3 separate regions of the Homo sapiens genome follow, and all the other regions are linked to region 3. Evidence: promoter capture Hi-C in 16 types of primary human blood cells and fetal thymus (Javierre and others, 2016). All regions are on one chromosome and are shown on one strand. The core of a region is centred on a gene start or on the middle of the fragment in contact, and the rest is flanking DNA. Distances in the headings are between cores, read along the strand shown.

What was found. The method cuts DNA at HindIII sites, captures the fragments that hold promoters and counts their contacts. A CHiCAGO score of 5 or more calls a contact.
Region 1: a contact is called between a fragment that was not itself captured here and the fragment with the promoter of TMEM108 in region 3, in 1 of 17 cell types (megakaryocytes). The highest score is 6.4, in megakaryocytes.
Region 2: a contact is called between a fragment that was not itself captured here and the fragment with the promoter of TMEM108 in region 3, in 1 of 17 cell types (megakaryocytes). The highest score is 6.9, in megakaryocytes.

Annotation. Positions count from the first base shown.
Region 1 is chr3:133,298,369-133,301,068 of GRCh38, forward strand. The region is part of intron 3 of TMEM108 (transmembrane protein 108); the gene reads left to right. Among named protein-coding and RNA genes, the nearest start is that of TMEM108-AS1, 43 kb to the left of the region's middle. The HindIII fragment of the contact is 4,368 bases long and covers 1-2,700 here.
Region 2 is chr3:132,770,451-132,773,264 of GRCh38, forward strand. The region is part of intron 3 of NPHP3-AS1 (NPHP3 antisense RNA 1); the gene reads left to right. Among named protein-coding and RNA genes, the nearest start is that of NPHP3-ACAD11, 49 kb to the left of the region's middle. The HindIII fragment of the contact is 5,583 bases long and covers 1-2,814 here.
Region 3 is chr3:133,036,874-133,039,739 of GRCh38, forward strand. TMEM108 (transmembrane protein 108) reads left to right here and starts at 1,518. Exons shown (of 6, transcript NM_023943.4): 1 at 1,518-1,562. RefSeq lists an enhancer at 1,212-1,506. The HindIII fragment of the contact is 5,754 bases long and covers 1-2,866 here.

The DNA of each region.
Region 1 (2,700 bases), core at 24-2,523, 260 kb after region 3:
AAAGCAATACAGAATGTCTGGAAAGCAGAAGATCCTCTCAACCCAATACAACTATGTTTATTTCATCTAGTCCCCTGGTGAATTTTCATATTCGTATTTTACCTAGAGTGCTTGTGATTTTATGGGACTTTTTTCTTGTTTCTTGATAATCATTTGTAAAAGCTGTAAAATTCTTCTTCTAGAACAGGTACCACTTTGTTTATCAAATGCTTGCATAGTGCTTCCTGTGTATCAGGTACATAAATATTATAATAAATATTAATGCAGTTCATTCTCATAATATTTATAAATTCGTTTCACACTCAACCATATTATGCCCATGTTACAGGTGAGGAAACCAAGGCTGAGAGGTTAGGCTACCTGCCCAAGGACACAGAGTTGTGAGTGACAGAGATGGGCGTGTGCTCAGCTGTGCTCATAACCACTATGCTATGCTGGCATTTTATTTAACCACCTTTCTACTGTTTAATATTTAAACTGCTTATAGTTTTTTATAATTATAAAAAACTACAAAGACCATCGGCTGCCTGTGGCATTTTATTCTTCTGGATTATTTGTTTAGGATAGGTTTTCCAAGAGATCTGCCTGCCACACTTGCTGTTTTGAGCTGACAGACAGGGGTGACAGTCTTACATGAATTCCCATTGGGGAAATCTGAACTGTGGGGAGAAGGAACACTTTTTCATGAGTTTGTTAGTGCTTGATTCATGGCCAGTGTAATCTAGGAACAATAAGGGGAAACTATATAAAGCTCACAGTTTAGTGAAAATGAAGGCTTCAGATGTTGGATGATACCTTGCAGCCAGCTAGTGCTCAATTACTGTCTCCTGGTTGACTTGGCAGCCGTAAAGCCACTCTTCAAATAAGAAAAACTGTTTTTATTTATTTCAGTAGGGAAATAAAAACAGAATAGCTCTTTAGTGGCAGATAGATTAACCAACAGTTGAGCTTAGTCTTTCTCCTTCAACCTTGATGTTTTGACATCCTGTAGACAGAAGTTTGGTTTGGAGGTCAAGCCGTGTTCTCTAGAATTTCTGTATAGACGGGGTTGGAGTTGGCAGTCCCTTTGGAAGGAGGTGCTAAGGGGACTTGTTGTGAAGCCGTGTTTGCATGGCAAGCATAGGTTTTCCCTTCTGCAGTACGTTTATATAGAAGATGACTTGGAGCAGAGGAGCTCATGAAGATTATGCCCTCATCATGCTTAAGGTTTTCCAGCTGATGTTGGGCCAAAATTGTCACAGGTCCTGATATCTCACAGGGCATTTCTTTATGTTTTCTCATATATGGCACAGGCCCACTGTTCTTCTTTGCTTAGAATGATATCATAATATCAAAAACTGAAGACAATTTCCATTTGGGAGAGCCAGGCCATCATACGTCTTCAACCCAACACACACACACTCTTCTGGCAGAGGGACGTTCTTCTCCTGGACCATCCCAGTTTTAACAATCATACATCTGTTCCCCATTCTTCCCAATTATAAATGTAATTACCATATCCCATTAGCACATTTTATTAAAACAGTCTTCCTATCACATAGAAGTGATAAATCTGAAAATCAGAGTGGAGAAAAGTGGAATGTCAGAGTAAGAAGAAATAGAAACAGCTGATTTCTACCCCTAAGTGTTCAGGTAAATTGCAGTGAGCCAAAGAGGCCTCAATGAAGTGTGTTAATGGCATAGTTAGAATCGGTAGACTACTTCATTGGTCCACACCTTCCCTTACTCCATAGCTCACTGTATCATTTATCAAGCATTGAAAGCCTCCAAAATGTTTGTTTAAATAAGCAAGAATACCCTGTGGCTGGTATGGGGGGGTGGGTGGTGGTCCTGACCACATTTAAGAATGTAAAATGAGTAAGTAAATAAGACCTGAAAGAGACGGATTAATGTCCGTAGGCAGTATGCAGGATACCTGATGGTGTTGCCTGGCAACCTACAGCCAGTCCTGCAGCAAGAGTCCCAGACAAAGAGGGGAATTGAGGATGTGTTCAGATGAATTAGGTTTATCACCCCACCCCTGTTTTTTTACTTTGGCGGCAACTGGGTAAGGGACCTCTTTTTAAACATGTAGCTGGGATTTGTTTTCATCAGATGTGGTAAGAGTTGCAGACGTGGAAATGACTGTCATGAAGGAAGAAGTTTATACTCAGAAAGATCCCTGGAAAGAGGAGGTACTGCACACCATGCAGTGCCACATGGGGAAGCACCAGGTTTAATGAGGACGCAGAGAGCCTTTTTGTGGTTTTTATAAAAAGAAATGGGTAAGGCAGGGTAACCATGGTAGACAGGTTTAGTTTGAATGATTTTAGTGGGCTCTGGGCTATAGGGATTGTCCCTGGTTGCCAGGTACCTAGCCCTGGAGTGATTAGGGCTGAGGGATAGTGTCCTGGACTGCAAGAGACTGATTAAAGGAGATGGGGGGTGGGAGGTATATGAACTCTGGTTTGGTGGATTTGCACATCAAAGGTGTGCTTGCAGACAAGTTTACTATCTCTAGGAATTATCTAACCCTGGAAGGGTCAACCCCTACCCAGATGCAGAAGGTCTCAGATGCCACAGCGTAAGAATAAAGAAAAAAAAAATACAATTAATACAGACCCCAGTACACACACACACACACACACACACACACACACACACACACACACACACACACACACACACAAGTTCTACTTTGTTTTGAGACATAAGAGGCAT
Region 2 (2,814 bases), core at 138-2,637, 270 kb before region 3:
ATAAATGTGGTATATCCACACAATATAACACCACACTGCAATAAGAATAAGCTATACCTATGTATAACAACACTAATGAATCTCATAGACATACGTTGATCAAGAGAAACCCGACACAACAGTGTGCACACATACTCTATAATCCATTATATGATGTTCGAAAAAGGCAAAAGTAATCAATGCAGACAGATGTCAGAATAGTGGTGACCTCTGCTGTCTAGAATGGGGCACAGAGGGGCCTTTTTTGATACTGAAAATGTTTTAAGTCTTAATCTGGGTGGTGTTACACAGGGATATATGAGTGTGAGAAATTGTCAATCTACATACTTTTTTTTAAACATAATTTACTGTATGTATGTTACACCTAAACTTAAAAATAACTTGTCTTTGGATGGTATTTACTATCCAAAGATTTATACATAAGTATTCAGCCTCTAGCCATAATAACCCCAAACTAGAAATTACCCAAATGTGAGTCAGCAAGTGAATGGATAAGCAAACTATTGTACATCTGTACAAAGAACTATTACTTAGCAAGAAAAAGGACTAAACTTTGAAAATGTGGCAGCATAAATGAATCACAAAATCATTATGCTAAGTGAAAAAAGCCAGACATAAAAGATGACACACTATATGATTCCATTTACGTAAAGTTAAGAAAATGTCAAGTAATTTATAGTGACAGGAAGCAGATCAGTGACTGGTTGCCTGGGGTCCAAGGAGGAGGGAGGGGGGAACTGAAAAAAGGCTTGAGAGAATTGTATGTCGGGGGGTGATAAAAATGCTCTGTATTTTGATTGCCTCAGTTGTTTCCCAGGTGTATACATGTCAAAATGCATTAAACTGTACCTTTTGAAGAGATGCAGTTTATTTTCCATGAATTATATCTCAATAAAGCTGGTGAAAATACATATCAAACTAAGAATACTCAAAGTCTTGAGCTTGACCAAAGAGGCCCAGAGAGCACTAGCTCAATAAACTTCAGTTTCCTTCCTAAGACTCCACACCCCAAATAAAATTCAAGTTTCCCTGAGAAGGACATGTGTAAAGGAGAGGAATGGTCCCACTTGCTTTGTTTTGAAGAATGTGGGTTGGGAGTAGAGAGCAAAAATGGATGGGAGAGGAAGACAGGTATCAGTCAGGGTCAGAAGACAGACACCACACCAGTCACTTCAACTACTGTGAACTATGTAATTGAAAAAGCACAAAAGAGAACACAGAGGAGTCAGGGATGTAGCTACTGCGGGATGCAGCTACCTTCATGAAGGTTGGGGAACAGAGGGGAGAGGTTAGAATAATTAAAACTTAGAAACTCAGAGTCTGGTCTTGGGGCCTGAGACCCACACCCCTGACGAGGAGGCCCAGGCTGGCTGGTGCTGGTGTCTCTGAAGGGGCAATGAGGTAGTTTCTCAAGTGTCAGAGAGACTGCAAATTGGATTCTGCTGCTGCTATAGAAAGAAGCTGCTAATGCTGGGGTGAAGAGACATTGCTGGGTGACACTAACAGGAAGAAGAGGCAAACAGGCAAAAGCACATCCTTTCTCCTTCCACCAGCCTTGCTATCTTCCTCCAGTGTCCCCACTGGTAGAGTCCAACAGCTGGGAAACCAAAATGCAGCTTGCAAAGTTCCAGGTCCAGCATCATAAAGTGTAGTATAAAAAGGGGCAACGGGCAGTTTGGAGTTGAGATTGGGCCTCAGACTATTTTGGGTTTAACTCTTGGCTTTGCCTTTTACTCATTGTGGAACCTTGAGCAAGTTACTCAACCTCCCTGGGCCTCAGATCTACAAGAGTAAAACAAAGGTAACATTCCCTTCTAAGTTTATGTTAGTGAGCCTTCAATAAATGGACTCTACTATTTCATTTCTTTGTTTATGTAGCACAAGCTCCCCTCCTCCCCCACCAATGTTCTTTCCTAAATTCTTTCCCAGCATTGTGGCCCAAATTACCTCACCCTTGGGATGGCTCTTCTCTGAGGGGCTTGCCAGTTTCCTCATGAGGAGCCACCAATGGTTTGAGATTCTGAGAACTAGCATGTGGTGGAGTTAGACTGTGGTCTGTGGTGTATCACTTGGATTTCAATCCTGGGGAAGCAGTGAATTAAGCAGCTGGCTTGTGATGCTTTTCTCTCCTTGTACCAGGAGGATACTCCTGGGAGCAAAGAAAGCAAATGGCTGAATGTAATCTTCTTATAAACATGCTTATAATTGACCTTCTGGAAAATAAACTAATGAGATTTGCTAGGAGGAGAGTCCATTTTAGCAGGAATGACCCTGGATTAGAATTGCTTATGGAAAACTAAAGTAGAATCTATGGATTTATAAGGCCTGGCTTCCTGGACAATTTCGTTTAAATCTTATAATGATCTGGGCATAAAATGGAGATGATTTATAACCCCAAGTCTCCCTACTGTATCAAGTAATCTACCAATCTCTTTAGAGACCCTGTCATTGCTCTGGGCCAGAGAATGCATGTCTGTCCCAGAGAGGATGACCTGGGAACCACACTCCATGTACTGGGTCTCTCCCTGCTTCACCTGGGACTCTTGATTAGTCAAGGTTCTCCAGAGAAACAGAACCAATGAAGAGACTTACATACAGATTTATTTTAAGAACTGTCTCATGCCATTATGGAGGCGGGCAATGACAAGTCCCAAGATTTGCAGTCAACAAGCTGGAAATACAGGAGGGCCAATGGGGTAGTTCCAGTCCAAATGCTAGCAGGCTTGGGATCCAGAAAGAGCCAATGTTTCAGAGTTTGAAGACAAGAAAGACCTGATGTCCCAGTTCAAGGCAGTCAGGCCAGAGGAATTCCTT
Region 3 (2,866 bases), core at 268-2,767:
AACAAACTTTTTTTGAGGCTTTCAAAACATTTTTCTTGCTTAGACATTTCTTTACTCCTGCTGTAGCCAGAACCATTGCTGTGACAGGTTTAACATGTTCCCAGAAACTCTGAATTTTGTGCGATGCCATCTCTGATAGGGACAATGTGATGAACAATGTCTGAGATTGCTAGGTGGGCTTCACTTCTGGGGATGAGAAGCCAGAGAAGTTCAGGACACACTGACAAAGGTGAAGTTTTCTCTAAGCGACAGTTTGATCACCTTGATAGTGAGAGAGAAATGCTGAAGCAGGGTTATACCACCTGGTTTCAAGAGATGAGAGATGAAGGTTTTGGAGAATTCAGCACTTAAGAATCTTGAACCACGGCGGTACACTACTGGGTAATAAGAGCTTGGCTACGCTGAACGACAAAGGTTCTAGCTGGCCAGTCCGAAAACACTGAGTCCTTAGGTCAAATTTGAGAAATGACAGGGCCAGTGGGAGTCCTAACTTCTAGACTCTGGAATTACTGACAGAAGAATATTTGGACAGTTTTTAAGACCCTCAAGGCATATTATTTTACAACCTCTTTAGCTTATGCCTGAATTTGTGCTGTGACTGTTAGCTTCCCGGATGTTTTCTCCACATGCTTCTTTCTGAACTAGCCTGTATAGTTCTACAACAAATTGTTACGTTTTGAGAAGCAGGGACCACTTATACCACTTCTCTGGCCAAGTGTCTGGCACCGCGCCACTCAGACACACACGCCCAACCCTTTAGGATTAACGTAGACACAGTGTTCTCTTCCATGGCCATTCCGTCTCCACTTCTGGTTCCACACTCCAGTCACCAAGTTGGCATGATTGCTGCTCCATAGACCAAGGGTGGGTAATGTGGGGATTAAACACACCTTCCCTCAGCTGGTGCCCAAACTGTAAGCATCACCGGGACACCCCATGTAGCCACAGGAACGCTTCTCATCAGTGGAAGAAGGACAAGAAAGGTCGTGCAAGTTTCAAATTACGTGGAGCTGGGGCTACAGCCATTACTTTCGGACAGGTGCAATTCAAAGCGTGATCCTCCGACCAAGAGCTTCGTCATCGCCACCTGGGAGCTTATTAGAAATGCAGGATCTCAGGTCTCCACCCCAGACCTTCTGGATCAGAATCCGCATTTTAACAAGAGAGTCAAGTGATTCTTATTTATATTAGAATTTGAGAAGTCAATTGATCTGGTAATTGATCAACTGAGTGCCACTTAGCCCCCGAAAACAGAGACCCTTTGTGCCCGCCTCGCACCCGCTCTGCTAGGTAGCAACCGAACCCCCAGAGACATCGGAGCGGGCGCTGCCGAGGGCAATTTGGTGATTGGCTGGTCTCACCACGTGACCGGCGCTGAGCCTTCCGTGCGACCGGATTGGCTGTCGCGGACGCTGACGGACAAGGCCGGGGCGGGCCAGAGCCTGGTCGGAGGGGCGCGCGCGGGGGCCCGAGGGGCGAAGGCGCGAGTGCGCGAGAGCGCGTGCGCGAGCGGTGGGGCTTTCTCCTGAGCCGTCGGAGGGAGCCGGAGCGCTTCTCCCGAGGTAAGCGGCGCTCCGGGGCGTCCCCCCAGTCCTTCCCATGCTGGGTCCCGGCAAGCGGGTTAGGCTGGGCTGGGCGGGGCTCGGGGAGGTGTGGGGTCAGCTTGCCCCGGGAGCCCAGCTTCAGGGAGGATGCAGCCCCGGTTGCCTTGGTTTCCCTTTTCCTATCCTCTCAGGCACCTTCCCATCCTCCCCACTGCGTGACGGGTCTGCCCGAGGGGAGTTGCCCACCTGGCAGCCCTGCCTCCGCCTTTGTTTCCCGCCTGGAGGGTTGCTGGCATGAACCCCCTCCCCAGGTGGAGGGTGCGGGTGATGGGGCGCGGGCGTCAGGAGCGCTGGACCTGGGCTGGGGCCGAGGAGGAGGTGGCTTTAATGCAGGGGGACCTGTCACATGGGGAAACGAAGAAGAAGAAATGTAGTGTCACTTTGGCCAGCCCGAGGGACTCGAACTAATCCTGCGGCCGCGAGCGGAGCCGAATTCCTAGCGCAGCTGTGCGAAGAGCCCTCCTGCCTAGGTGCCGGCGGCCTCGCCGGGGACGGAGCCTCCGTGCTGCCCGGGAGGTTGCTCTGCCGGCTGGACCTGGCGGTTTTCACCCCAGAGTTGCAGCGAAATTGAACGCTTTGAGCCTGCTGGAGGAATCCAGAGATTGGTTCAGGGGCTATTTTTTTTTTTAAGCAGTTGGGCACCGGTGGAGCCGGTCTAAATGAAAGTCTACAAAAACCAATTTCAGATGCAGCGTAACTGATGACTGGTAAATGGTGAGGAGGGAAATGCCTGCAGTGAACTGCAGACCACCACACTGAGATTCTTCCTTAAGAAGATAGGGGTTTTTTTCGGAGGAAAGGTTGTAGTTTCTGCAAACAGGTTTTTCTGGGGGTACCCAGGAAGGTTATTACTTATTTTCAGCATGTTACTGGGTTGTGGGGAGAGGGAAGGCAGGGTCTAAACTAAACCTACTCACACGTCCTTAATTCTTTGAAAAGTGTGTGCTCGATGAAGACCATTTGGCTGCCAAAAGAGGTTTGTATGGGAGTCCGGGGGAGATGGATTGTTGCCTTTAAATCATACTTTAAAAAGGGGAAGGTATGTCCAGGAACTTAAGAGCAGGTCAAGCTATGGAAAGTATTCCCTGCCTCTCCTCCATTTCCCCAGACAGCTCATAGGCAAACATAAAAAGTCCCTTCAATTTTCCACGGGTTAACTTCTTGATTTGTTGGATACACCTGGTAATCTACTCTGTAAGAAATGGTTCAACTAACTCATTATGAAGATATTACTGTGTTCTGGACTTTCCACGTAATTTATT